Regions from separate parts of the Homo sapiens genome. Here all the other regions are linked to region 5. Evidence: promoter capture Hi-C in human tissues and cell types (Jung and others, 2019). All regions are on one chromosome and are shown on one strand. Each heading gives the region's core, a stretch centred on a gene start or on the middle of the fragment in contact. The rest is flanking DNA. Distances are from core to core; before and after follow the strand shown.

Region 1 (2,700 bases), core at 179-2,678, 780 kb after region 5:
GGGGGAGGAGAACACAGATAATATACAACTAAATTATATCTAAGCAGATATACTCGAGATACATAATATGTTCCATCTAACACCTTTTAAGGACAAAGCAGGCCAGGCATGGTGGCTTACACCTGTAACCCCAGCACTTTGGGAGGCTGATGGAGGATCGCTTGAGGCCAGGAATTCGAGACCAGCCTGGGCAACATCTCTACAAAAATAAAAATTAAAAAGTGAGCCAGGGTGGTGGCCCACGCCTGTAGGGGGGATTGCTTGAGCCCAGGAGTTGGAGGCTGCAATGAGCTAGGATCCGACCACTCTTCCAGCCTGAGAGACAGAGAAAGACCCCCTCTCTAAAAAAAGAAAGGGAGAAAGAGAGAGAGGCAGAGAGAGAGAAAGAAAGAAAAGAAAAGAAAAGAAAAGAAAAGAAAAGAAAAGAAAAGAAAAGAAAAGAAAAGAAAAGAAAAAGAAAAAGAAAAAAACAGGAAGGAGACAGGGAGTGGTTGGGGGAGGAGGAGGGGGCTGCAATATTAGAATGATTAGATTAGGCCAAGCATGGCCTCCCTGAGTGTGAATTTGAATGCTGACCTTCAGAAGCAGGACAGACTCTATGGGCAAATCCCTCGAGGCTGGGAGAGGTCTGAGGCTTGGGAGGGTCGGCAGAGAGACAATAGGGCTGACGCAGGAGCCCGGGGGAGACAGTAGTAGTAAGACATGAGGGACAGAGCAGAGAGGTCACTGTCCTCAGAGTGTGGACGCCGACCAACACTAGGGGCATCACCTGGGAACTTAGAAATGCTCGTTCTCACGCCTCGCCCCAGACCTACTGAAGCAGAAACGCTAGGGTGGGCCCAACAGCGTGTGTTCTAACAAGCCTTTCAGGCGACTGCGATGCACGATAAAGTTGGCAGCTCCTGGAGCAGGGGTCCCTCCGCGCTACGACCCCACCTCTTCGCGGTCCTCTCAGTCTCCCTAGCGGGGCAAGGGACCCGCCCAGCGCTTTGCTGATTTGCCCAGCGCTCACGCCCAACCTGGGTTTCTCCGGAGCTCGCCGCGCCCCGCGCACCCACCCCGCAACGGCAGCCGCACGTGGGTCTCCCCGCAAACCACCCAGGCGTCCCGGGAGCAGCGCTGCTGCACGGCCGCGCTGGGGGCCCAACGCCTGGGGTTGCAGGTGCAAAAGGCGCCCCGAGCCGGGGAGGCCAATCGCGTCCGCGGAGAACGCAGAGTGCGGGCAGGGGCGCATCCCTCGCCACCCGCGGTCGCCCAGCACGCCGGGACGCGCGTGGCCATCCAGCTCCCCGGGGGCGTTGGGGGGCTCCGCGGGCCTGGGCCTCGGGATTCGCCCGCCGCTTCCCCGGGGAGCCGCTGCTGCAAAGCCAGGTTGGGGCGCCGGGCCCGGCCAGCGCCCTCTAGGCAGCGGAAGTGCAGCTTGCTTTACATCCGTCCTCCCCGCCTCGCAGAGTTGGGAGAAGGCAGGGTGGGGGGTGTGGAAAAATAAAAGGAAAAGTCCTTGCACCATGTAGATCAGCGTCCCCCACTTTGGCATCCCGGCCGGCCGGGGACCTCCCAGTCTGCGGCCATGAACGCGAGCAGCGAGGGCGAGAGCTTCGCGGGCTCGGTGCAAAGTAAGTGCTTTTCCGGGAGCAGTGCGCGCTCCGGGGCCCAGTGCGCGCTCCGGGGCCCGGGCCCAAGCACGTCTGCGACGCAGCCAGCAGGCCCGGGGCCCCGAAATCGGGGTGACGGCTCGGAGCCGCGTCTCGGGGACCGCGGCGGGCGCGCTGTGCAGGGGGCGCCGGAGTGGGCTTGGGGTGGGGGCGCACCCGACCTGGCGCAAGACCGGGGGCGCTCTCCAGCCTTGCGAGACCCCTTGGAAGGGAACAGTGGGGGAGGGCACGCCGTTCAGACAATCGCCACCCCCTAAGGGCATTCCCGCCCCATCAGGCGGAGTTTGGGGCGGGCAGGAGAAAGGGAGGAATCTAGGGTAAACGGGGCAACACTGATGGGAAAACTTCTGCCTCAGTGGCTCAAAATTAGAGCCTGGAGATTGGGGGAATCACCAGGTCTCACGAGGTCCTGCCGGCTCATTGCAAAGCCTTTTCCTCATTAAGGGTGGAGATCTGAATGGAAAACGGGGCCGTGGTCGCTTTATTTGGGTTTGGGGTTCAGTTTTTATTTAACCGAGGAGGACATCAGCGTTTTTCAAGTCCCTGGTTTCTCCCGGTGCATTGTTTCCCAAAGTGTGGTCCAGAGACTGAGTGCAACCAGCCACCTGGGAGCGAGAGCGTGTATTTTAAAACAGCTTTCTGGGCCCCACCCATTCAATCTCGGGGGTGGGGCTGGGGATCCGCTGTCCTTCGTAGCTGCCTGGGCAACTCTGAAGCACATGAAGTTTGAGAACCCATCTACCAGGGGTTTGCAGAAAATCTGGCACATAGTAAGCTCCCAGCTTGTTAGCTGCTACTGTTAACAGTTTGGGAGACACTGGGTCCCAAACTTGGCGGTGTATTCCTTGCATTACTGTGAAAAGCACAGATTTTCCTAAACACCATCCTCCCCACCCCACCCTGTTATGACTCAGTATCTCCTAGGTGGGGCTCAGATATGTCCATGTTTAAATAGTGTACCTCAGTAAGAACCCAGCAGGTAACATGCTGGGGGACTGGCGGGGAGGGGGGACTGTGCTGGTACGAGCACCATCCCATTTAATTC
Region 2 (2,700 bases), core at 123-2,622, 960 kb before region 5:
CTGTGTCTTAGGGTTTTCTCGGGAACCTCTATCCCATGACAAGGAGCTGAATAGAAGGACATTAATATGGGTGCTAGTTTTAAAGGTACTGGAAGAGTTGAAAAGACAACCATGGGGCCGTGAGGCCCACCCGGAGATTAGAAATAGAACATGGCACATGTATACCTATGTAACTAACCTGCACATTGTGCACATGTACCCTAAAACTTAAAGTATAATTTAAAAAAAAAAAGAAAGAAAGAAATAGAAATAGGCTACAAAAAGAACCACCACTAGAGACACACAGCCAAAGGGAAGAGGTGATGCTTCTGGAGCTAGGGAACCCGGCACCCTGTGGGAAATAGAACCCCATGTGGATGGGGGTGAGGCTGCTTGAGGGTAGCTGGAACCCAATGGAGGCTTCTGCAAGCAGTACCTTTTTGTTGACTGGAGGGAGGAGGCAGGAAAAATACGTGTCAGTGCCGCCCACTGGCTGAACTTAACCAGAAGCCAGTTGGTAATGGAACCTGGGAAATGCAGTTTGAAGAGAAGCTTGGAAAAATGATCTGAGAGTAAACATACAAATACCTAGCACAGTTGGTGGCTTTAAGAGGAGAAAAAAGGGAAGGGAAGGGGAGGGGAGGGGAGGAGAAGGGAGGGGAGGGAAGGGAAGGGAAGGGAAGGGAAGGGAAGTGAAGGGAAGGGGCAACCTTGATTAGTGTCCCACCCCCTTCCCTGGCTCTAAATAAATGAACATGTATGCTATGGTCATGCTGACATCCTTGTCTCCTCCTTTATCTTCAGAAGAGAGCAGTAGCTATGAACACAGGCTCTGGGTCCAAACAGCCTTGGTTGCAATCCCAGTGGTGCTACTTGCTAGCCACGTGGCTTTGAGCAGGTTCCTTAACTTCTTCCAGCTTCACTTTCACATCCATAAAGTGGAGACACTAGTAGAATCCACCTCACTGAGTTGCTGTGGGGATTTAACGATGTATTCCATGCAAAGCACAAAATGAGTGTCTAAGAAATGTTCATGCTTATGGAAACAGACTGTTCTTTGAGTTTCAATCAGCTTATTCAAGTTCCTGCTAAAACATGTTTCTTCTCCTCTTTACCACTCACACCTCCAACTTCAATGTCTAGAATCTACCCCTTGTCTCTACTTCACAGTCTTTAAAGTAAATAAATAAATAAATCTTTCTATTTTCATAGAGGTTCTGTGAGAACTGAGGAGAAACAGCCTTTCTCCTCCCCTCTGGGCTCACAACCCTCTCTCCGCATCCCCTGCCCCCTCCCTATCTTTGCTGGCCAGTTGTTCACAAGTAGCTTAACAGTTTTGAGAATACAAAAACAGGAAATTATGCCCCAGCCCTAAGACTAAAAAACTCATGTGCAAATCCTTCAGTGGACAGATTTCTTCAGCTTTCAAAAACTAAGGCCTTGAAAAATCAGGTCCCATGGCCAAATTTTCTGGATTTGCTTAATCATTTCCTTTGCAAATTTATAACCTCTTTAACCATGAAGAGAGATGGTGAGAAAGGGGGAGGCGGGAGTTGAAAATGTTTTAAGTTAACCGCAAGACAGGACAGGAAATTCTGGAGGGGTGTGCATTTCTCTTTAATCCCTTAGTGGCAGAGAGGCCTAAGATAGCAGCTCTGGAAAACTATTTATTGTCCCAGAAATGACCGTTCTGGGATATTGTTTTGCTGTTGATATTGACCCAGAGGAAAATGTGGCAGCCTTCTTCATTCAGTGGCTTAACAGAGAATAGAAGAGCAGGGAAGGCTCTGAGACACCCCGGTCTGATCCTTTACTTGACTCATGCAACAGACACTTATTGAGTGGCTGCCCTGCCCTCCAATGGATAGAGAGGACTGAGACAGCCTCCCAAAGAGGTGAAATAACTTCCTCGCTTTTTCAATGCCATTTGAAAAGTTAAGGAATCTACTGGGGGCTGTCTACTAGAAGAATCTAAAATAGGTGATCCAAAGCTGTTTTATTATTAAAATTCCTGAAAGACAAAAAGAAGTGACTTTTTTTTTTTTTTTTTTGCCCTTCCTTCTCACTTTCTGAGTTTTTCTTGGCTAATCGGAGTTATGTACTTTTTTTAACCTTTAAGGTAAGTTCCTGTCTTTAGCAGTGGTTTTTATTTGAAGCCAGGGCCCAACCCACTTATGTTGATCCAGCAAATGAAATGGAATGGAACAGAATGGAATAGAATAGAATACAACAGAAAGCTCATGGTGCATCACGGGTAATATGGTTAACATCCATTAGTGGAAGGTTTGTTTTGATTACTAATGTATGTGTATAGACTCAAAATGTATTTCTTATTATGATTTGTAATAAGAAAACTTTAAAAGCCTCTGATCTTTAATATAGTTCAGCAGCGAAAGGTGTGGGATCTAGAGTCTACTGGCATGAGTTTGAATGTCAGCCTGTCACTCTGACCGGCTGTTTGATGTTGGACAAGCTGATTATCCTCTCTGAACCTCACTTACTTAAGGGAAATACAACACAATAAAGAGAGATATAAAGTGAATATTGGATATCACAGTGTCTGAATTTCTGGGGTCATTTATCTGCAGAAAATGCCATCCTGCCCCCTATATCTTTCCTTTGGCCCAGCGTTCTGCCAGTTGTCTAGGGTCTACTCACCTTAGGTAAAGCTACTTCCTCTATCTTAACCTCTCTTGATTTGATCTCCCTTCATTCCCTCTA
Region 3 (2,700 bases), core at 169-2,668, 650 kb after region 5:
ACCCCATTCAAATGCCACATCCTTCATGAACCCATTGCTAACCCCCCAGTTCCTCCACTTACTCAATGGCACTTACCACTGTCTAACTTGTGTTCTTTGGAGACCCATTTTATTATAGTTCAATGAATATGACTAAACCCCAACACAGATCGAGACAACTAATGGTCAATTATTAAGTGAAAAAATAAATATTAGGTGAGAAAACAAAATATGCGTATGTCAAAGACAACCAGGGAATTTTCTTAAGCCATCACTGTAACCATGATTCTAAATCAGGGATTGCAAATGTGTAGCATGTGTGCCATCCTGCATAACTCCAAAATCCATGGCAGACATTACCAATCAACCATGCCTCTCTCTCTCTCTCTGTGTGAACTCCAGCATAACCATGCCTCTAAATCAGGGATTGCAAATATGTAGCATGTGTACTGTCCTGCGTAGCTCCCACACTCATGGCAGACATTACCAATCAATCATGACTTCCTGCCTCCCCAGTCCCTGGCACAATCCAGAAGCCCTCCAACACAGAGCTCTTGGCAGACACTACTAAGCAATTTGGATTACCATGAGATGAAACCCATTGCTTTGCCAGCTTTCCTCCAGTCAGAATTGCTTACTCCTGTTATTTTATATAACTTATTCTAGTCTTCCCTTATTCCTGCTGGCTTCCAGACTTAACGTTTATCCTGGCCTCAACATTTGAACCTAGCACTAGGCATTGCTTCCCATACAACAAGCTCTGCTAGGCACTGACCACAGCTGGGGCCTTTCACTCACCCAAACTGCCTTGGGTAAACTGGCCACTAAGTTCAACCCATGTATAGGACCCCTGCCCTTCCTTTGACACTGTTCCTAGCCCAATTAAAGAAACTCCCATTACGTGCCCATCCAAGAAGCAAGAAACAGACACTTAGGTCAGGATGGTCAAATACATATTGTATAAACGGCCTCTACCCCTTTGCAAGCCCATGGCAAACACTGCTGGTTGACTAACGTCATCTCTTACATGAATGCAGAGGCATCCTCAGAAGTTTTCTTAGCATTAAGACCCCAGACAACCATTAAAAACCAATCTAATTTGCATTTGAGACAAAATTTGCCAGTCATTCTACATAAACCAATGGAAACTCTAGTTCCAAAATCATATAGCCCAGTAGAGTGAATTAGGTTGCAAAGAACCCTCTTGATCCCTGGGAGATTCTTAGGATAAACATAGAATCCAAATGAACCACAGGAGGGTCACAGAAAAGAAGACTAAGGACCCAGCAGAGACCGCTGCCTGATGTACCAAGCACCAACACTGTGGCAGCCTGGAAATGTGGTCCTGATTCAGAGGTCCTGGGTACTGCAAACCTTCTCAAATCCACTTCCTGCTTTACACTGAGGAAATCTTACAAAAATAAAAATTACAATCTGTCACATTACATTACCTCAAAGCATGATGTAACATCATAATTTTTTAAAGCATATGTTTTAATTTATGATGTTGTGTGATGCCACAAAAAGCTTGATTTTCCCTTGAGTACCAATAAATTTTGACAGTGATGGTTTATCCCAAAACTTTGGCAGACTGAAACACAAGGAAGGTTGGCCAAAGATAGGTAGTTAGCCACCACTGAAGAAATGCTTATGAGTCAGTCACCAGGACATCAACCTGTCCTTGTCCTTCAAAAGCTCAAACTCTATAGTCCTGTGCTGTCCAATATGGTAGTCACCATGGCCAGTGAGGATCTGACAGGTGACTAGTCCAAAAATCTAGAAACACTGCAAGTACAGAATATACATCAGATTTGAAAGGCTTAGTACATAAAATATATAATATTTTGTTAATATTTTTTTTTTGAGATGGAGTCTCATTCTGTCACCCAGGATGGAGTGCAGTGGTGCAATCTTAGCTCATTGCAACCTCCCAGGTTCAAGCAACTCTGCTGCCTCAGCCTCCTGAGTAGCTGGGATTACAGGTGCACACCACCATGCACAGCTAATTGTTCTGTGTATTTTTAGTAGAGACCGAGTTTCACCATGTTGGCCAGGCTGGTCTCAAACTCCTGACCTCAGGTAACCCACCCGCCTTGGCCTTCCAAAGTGCTGGGATTACAGGCATGAGCCACCACACCCGGCCTTCAGTATTTCTTTATAGCAATGCAAGAATGGACTAATACAAGGTGGAAGATGACACTAGAAGGGGGAATGAGCATATTTTGATCTTATATGGCAGTAGTCAGCAAACTAGGACCGGTGGGCCACATCTGCCTGGTTTTATAAGTAAAGTTTTATTGGAACAGAGCCACACCCATTCGTTTATGCCTTGTTCATGGCTGCTTTCAAACAACAGGGCTGAGGTGTAGCAACAGAGATGTTGTGGTCAAGAAGTTCAGAGATTGGCAGATTAATTCCCATAGTGTCAACCAAACCAAGTCCTAAATGCCTAGCATGGTGTCCTTCATCTTAAAGACAGAAAAGTGGGAGTTTATGGGGATTTTTGGAGAGGATGGTTTTTTTTTTTTTGACAGAGTCTTGCTCTGTCGCCCAGGCTGGAGTGCAGTGGTACGATCCCATCTCACTACAACCTCCACCTTCGGGGTTCAAGTGATTCTCCTGCCTCGGCCTCCCGAGTAGCTGGGATTACAGGCATGCACCAAAATGCCCAGCTAATTTTTGTATTTTTAGTAGAGACAGGGTTTCACCATGTTGGTAGGC
Region 4 (2,741 bases), core at 67-2,566, 710 kb after region 5:
ATCCACTGTTTCCTAAAAAAAAAAAAAAAACAAAAACCTGGCCTACCCAAAAGAAAAATAAAATCTACAGACACTGATATATTGGACTCCCTCCGTGAAGCAGGCAAGTCACCACCTAGGGCTCCCACAAAGAGGTCAACCAGTCAACAAGATCAATCCAGACATAAATCACTGAGTCTGCTTTTCAGTGCCTCACTTCAAAATTCAAATGGGCATCCAAGCAACACCATGTACATGTATCTATAGATTTTAATACATATACATATGTATTTCAGACAGGGTCTCACTCTGTCACCCAGGCTGGAGTGCAGTGGCACAATCACAGTTCACCGTAACCTCTGCCCACTGGATTCAAGTGATCCTCCCACCTCAGCCTCCCAAGTAGCTGGGACTACAGGTGAGCGCCATCACACCCACCTAATTTTTTTTTTTTTTTTTTTTTGTAGAGACCGGGTTTCGTCCTGTTGCCCAGGCTGGTCTTGAACTCCTGAGCTCAAGTAATCTGCCCACCTCAGCCTTCCAAAGTGCTGGGATTACAGGCATGAGCCACCATGCCCAGCCAACATCACCATGTTTTTTACCAAAACCTCTTAACATTAAATTCAGAGATGAAAAACAGTAGGAAAAAGCAACTTGGAAGAAACAAAGATATTACAAAAAAAATAAAAAATGCTAAACATCTTCAGAGAGATAGAACATTCATGAATAAAATGTCTAAGAAGGAACATTCAAAGGACAACAAATCACTTTTTGAAAGTTCAAAAGACAGTTTGGAAGATGATGGTGAGAACTTTTCCAGAAAGTAGAACAGAGGAAAAAGAGATGAATAATGGAAGACTAAAATATTAAAAGAAAAAGTAAAGATACAACACCCAAATAATAATTTTAGAAAATAACAGTAACAAAAATTAAAAATAAAAAAGGAAAGTAACATAGAAATTTTCCAAGAAAATGTTCCCAAACCTAAGAAAACTAGCTTCAAGAATCCAACAATTACCCAGCTCAGTGAGTGAGGAAAGTCCCATATTTATTTCTATCATCATGAAATTTCAAATTTTAAAAACTTTCCAGAGGGTTAAATGTTTTTAAAAGGTTTATAGTAGCATCATCACACATCATAACAGTTATGCTGGAAATTGAAGACAATAAATACATTTCTTCAAAATACTAATGCAAAAGTACTTCTTTCCAACCAAGAATTCCATAGCTAGTTAAAATTATTGCTCAGTTGTGAAATATAGAATAAATATACTTCCAAATTGGCAACATCTCAAAAACTGACTCTCTGATCCCCTTTCTCCAGAAAAAGGGAAGCTTTTTTATTTTTTTCTTTTTCTCTGGAGAGAGTCCATGTCTGGCTGGGAGTGAAAGCACCATAGGGAAAAAGGGAGAGAGGGGGTAAGAGTTTAGAAAGATTGAATCCTAGTATTATCGTTTGAGCCCTGGACACAGAAGTTAAAGTGTGGGCACAATATCTGCACTGAAGTCTCTGGTTCACCATCAATTGCAACCTCTGGTAGTGAAAGTGCATCTCCCATTCTGCCTCTTTCATGAATTTTCTTGAGTTAATATCCCTCCTTTCTGACCACCAGTTATTTTCATGTATGATATTAATCTAAGGTCTCACTTCTTTGCAATGTAGATTTTAAGTTTCTCTCCTATGTATAAGCCTGTCCTTCCCAATGGGTTAAAGCCACTCTCGGATCCGAGCAGCAAGAGCTCTCCTGAATTCACCTCTTTCCCTCACACCCAATTGGCCACCGCGTTGATTCCTTTCTACCTCCTTGCTCTTCCCACCTTCTCTTACCTGAATTCTGACTAATTTCCTTGTTTTTGGTGTCCCTTCTCTAGAATCAATTCCCTACACAACTGCTGGAGAGATTATTCTAAAATACCAGTGTGATAGTGATCCTTTTCCCTGCTTGAAACGCTTTGTTCACTCCAAGCCAGAAGGATAAAATCCAACATCCTTAAAACTTTATGCAAGATTCAGCCCTGGACTACCTCCCACCTACATTCATCTGAAGCCACTTAGAGCTATTTCACTCCCCTATGACTCTGAAAATGCTCAGCCTGGCATCCTCCACCCTTTCCCACCTGTATGGTGTAGCTGTGTCGCCACCCAAATCTCATCTTGAATTGTAGCTCCCAAAATTCCCATGTTGTGGGAGGGTCCCAGTGGGAGGTAACTGAGTCATGGGGGCAGGTCTTTTCCATGCAGTTCTCATGATAGTGAAGAAGTCTCATGAGATCTGATGGTTTTATAAGGGGAAGTTTCCCTGCCCAAGTTCTCCCTTTGCCTGCTGCCATCCACGTAAGACATGACTTGCTCTTCCTTGCCTTCTGCCATGATTGTGAGGCCCCCAAGACATGTAGAACTGTGAGTCCATTAAACCTCTTTCCTGTATAAATTACCCAGTCTTGGGTATGTCTTTATTAGCAGCATGAAAACAGACTAATACACCACCTGTTGTGAACAGTCTGACAAATTCCCACTCATCCTTCTAGATCCAGCACAAATAAGTCCTGCTTTGTGAAACATTCCCTAGAAGTCACCCCTTTTCCATATATGTTGCCTACTCCCTCCTTTATACCATGTGTCCTCTATGATGGCACCTACCATGTGTCCTACAAGCTCTTGGTACATATTGGCTTCCCATACTAGAGAATGAGTTCAGTTATGTGTTCCAAAATTGAGGTGGCATCTGTCCTTGGTAGGTAATAAATGTTTGGTGAAGGGT
Region 5 (2,700 bases), core at 69-2,568:
GGGGCTGTCTCCCTACTCCGCACCCCAAATCCTCAATCCGACTTTGGCCCGAGAGGCAAGAAACAGACTGGAAGAAAGTTAGGGGTGGGGTAGAGGGTGGAGGAAAGAAAGTTTAAGGAGGAAAGGCTTGGTGGGATAGCTCACCCCAACCCAACCGGAGCTTGGAAGGGGAGGATTTGGGAGACCAGAGAAGGCGAGAGAGGACGGGGTTATTAGAAGGGCACCCGGCGCAAACTCCCCCGAAAGCTTAAGTGGGTGGTGCCCCCGGGCACCCAGGGGCAAGGAGGGCGGGCGAGGAGCTCGGCGCACAGGGCAGCCCCGAAGCGGAGCCGTTTCTCTTACCTGCCGCCCGCTTGGGTGCCTGCTGTTTTCTCCTCGGCATCCTCTACTTCGCTCCAGTCCCACTTCTGGCGCCCCAGCCCCGAGCCGCGCGCTGGGGCCCGCTGTCTCTCTGGCCTCTCTGGGTCTCCTCCGCCTCTTGCCCGGTGGCTCCTAGGACGTCACTCGGCCTCTGTCCCCCTGACGATCCCCCCTGCAACTCCTCCACCACGGGCCAGAGACCCCCCTCTCTGGGTGGCAGACACGGGTGGCTTGTGCCGGCTGCTTTGAAGTAGAGGTTGGTTCTGCCTTGTTTGTTTGTTTGTTTATTTTGAATTTTTTTTCCTCTCTCTTTTTTGTTTTTGCTTTTGGAATTTTTTTGGTTTTGTTTTTGCGGTTTTTTTTTTTTTTGGTGACTGTTGAGACACTTGATTTCTTTATTAAACATCCAAGCCCGGGTTCGGATGGAAGGGACGAGGGGCGCACACGCGCCACAGGCACACTCGCGCGTAAAGATAAGGAAAAAAAAAAGGCAATCCTGGGAAGGTAGTGGGTTTCTTCTTTTTCTTCTTCTTCCTTCTCCTCTTTCCCTCCTCCTCCTCCTCCTCCACCTCCTCCTCCACCTCCTCCTTCTTTTCTTCCTCCTCCTCCTCCTCCTCCTCGCCGATCTCTATGGCGGATTCGTGCCGGGGGGAGAGCGATCACTCACTGTAGGTTTGTGGCTGCTGTCAGATCCCCGTCTGTGAGTGATATGCGAGAGGACAGGAGCGGGTTTTGGAAAGACAGAAAATCTGGAATTCACTCACTCACACACACACACAGACACACACACAGACACTCACACACGCACTCACACGCGCACGCACCCCCGCTTCCTCGCACACACACACTCACACCCCCCACATATGCACACACACACAAACACACACACACACCCTCGCACACACACACAAGACAGGGCGAGGCGATGCCAGCAAACATCGATCCCGCTGAACAAACTGAACATTAACAAACTCCTCCTCCTCCTCCTCTCCCCGCGACCTGATGACAGGGAGAAATTTACTCCCCAGCCGCAGAGCGCCAGGCAGCGGGAGCCTATTAAAGGGACAGCGTCCCGCAGGGGAGAGGGGCTGGGGGCGGGGGCCCCGGCGCGCCGGCCCAGGCCCCTCTGTGCGCCCTCTCCGCCGGGGCGAGGGCGTGCCCACCGGGCGCGGGGACACCCCTCCGGGAGGCGGAAGGGGCGGGGGCGGGAGGAAAGGAGGTGAGGAGGGAAGGGGTGCGGGAGAAAAGGAGGCAGTGTGATGATGGCTGAACTCTGAAGCTGGGAGGCTGTGGAGGGAGATTCAGGGGGGCCAGGTTGGCTGACCAGCAGGGACCATGCACAATCTTAGGAGAGGGAGAACTTAGGTTTGCTCGGGGCTGGGAAGGGGGAGGGGACCTTATCCAGTGAGGATCTCCATCCTGTAAGTCTTAACCTGCCCCCACCAAAATGTGCTCCCCACGACCCCTTCAATTTAGTGCCCCTGTCCCTCCCACTTTCTCGCTAATCAATGGGTGGTCACAAAAACAAAAATCTCCCTTCTGTCTACTTTAAGGTCTAATCATATACTCCTCTTTTTGTTTCCTTTGAAGAATGTTTATTGAGCATCTACTATGTGCCTATTCTGGAGACACAGAGGCCACAGAGAAAGGGAAGGTGGTGGCCATGTTGGTATTTATATTCTAATGGGGGAGTGCAGACAAGTGCCCCCCAGCTATCCAATCTTTGCTTAAATGTCCCCTTTTCCCAAAGGTCTACCTCACCTAAAATACACACACACACACACACACACACTCCCTGCCCCATTTCTCCATTTTGTTATTCCCCAGTGAGCTGATCAGTGAGTGTCACACAGGTTATAGACAGTTTTCTATTCTGTTGATTGTACAAGTTCCCCTCTTGAATGTAAGCTCCAATGGAAGGAAGGATTTTTGCCTCTTTGTTCTCTTATATCCCCAAGTGCTGGCAAAGCACAAGACATATAATAAGTGCCCAGTAAAATATTTGTTGAATGAATGAAAAGTAAGCAAGCAAATAAACAGGATACTTTGAGTGATTCGCTCCATGAAGACGTTAAGCTGAGTGCTGTAATAGTGTCTAAAAGGGGGTGGGTGGCTCTAGATTCAATGTAGGATATGGCATTTGAGCACAGAGAGATTGAAACAAACATGTGATTATTGAGTTCTGCTATCGGCCAGGCACCTTTTGAGGTGTTGGGGGCAAGTCTGTGAACAAGGTGAACCTAGACCATGCCCTCAAGGAGTGCTCCTTCCAGTGAGAGGGCAAAGCAACTGAGGGCATTTGATGCAGGCTGGGACTAGAGGTGTTTTTTTTTGCTTTAT

What was found. The method cuts DNA at HindIII sites, captures the fragments that hold promoters and counts their contacts. A contact is called where the count stands out against the background at its distance.
Region 1: a contact is called between the fragment with the promoter of ZFP64 here and the fragment with the promoter of TSHZ2 in region 5, in 1 of the 25 tissues and cell types used here (heart right ventricle).
Region 2: a fragment that was not itself captured here is called in contact with the fragment with the promoter of TSHZ2 in region 5 in 1 of the 25 tissues and cell types used here (dorsolateral prefrontal cortex).
Region 3: a fragment that was not itself captured here is called in contact with the fragment with the promoter of TSHZ2 in region 5 in 2 of the 25 tissues and cell types used here (dorsolateral prefrontal cortex and mesenchymal stem cells).
Region 4: a fragment that was not itself captured here is called in contact with the fragment with the promoter of TSHZ2 in region 5 in 1 of the 25 tissues and cell types used here (lymphoblastoid cells).

The regions. Positions count from the first base shown.
Region 1 is chr20:52,190,507-52,193,206 of GRCh38, reverse strand. ZFP64 (ZFP64 zinc finger protein) reads left to right here and starts at 1,428. Exons shown (of 6, transcript NM_018197.3): 1 at 1,428-1,616. The coding sequence starts at 1,571. RefSeq lists enhancers at 547-676, 1,717-2,573 and silencers at 1,087-1,356, 1,717-1,956. The HindIII fragment of the contact is 31,514 bases long and covers 1-2,700 here.
Region 2 is chr20:53,933,633-53,936,332 of GRCh38, reverse strand. All of the region lies in intron 1 of BCAS1-AS1 (BCAS1 antisense RNA 1), which reads right to left. Among named protein-coding and RNA genes, the nearest start is that of BCAS1-AS1, 19 kb to the right of the region's middle. RefSeq lists an enhancer at 820-1,321. The HindIII fragment of the contact is 4,234 bases long and covers 1-2,700 here.
Region 3 is chr20:52,319,995-52,322,694 of GRCh38, reverse strand. All of the region lies in intron 3 of LOC105372666 (a long non-coding RNA gene), which reads right to left. Among named protein-coding and RNA genes, the nearest start is that of ZFP64, 130 kb to the right of the region's middle. The HindIII fragment of the contact is 6,006 bases long and covers 1-2,700 here.
Region 4 is chr20:52,262,501-52,265,241 of GRCh38, reverse strand. All of the region lies in intron 2 of LOC105372666 (a long non-coding RNA gene), which reads right to left. Among named protein-coding and RNA genes, the nearest start is that of ZFP64, 72 kb to the right of the region's middle. The HindIII fragment of the contact is 6,105 bases long and covers 1-2,741 here.
Region 5 is chr20:52,970,976-52,973,675 of GRCh38, reverse strand. It overlaps TSHZ2 (teashirt zinc finger homeobox 2), which reads right to left and starts at 1,318. Exons shown (of 3, transcript NM_173485.6): 1 at 343-1,318. The coding sequence starts at 382. The HindIII fragment of the contact is 6,451 bases long and covers 1-2,700 here.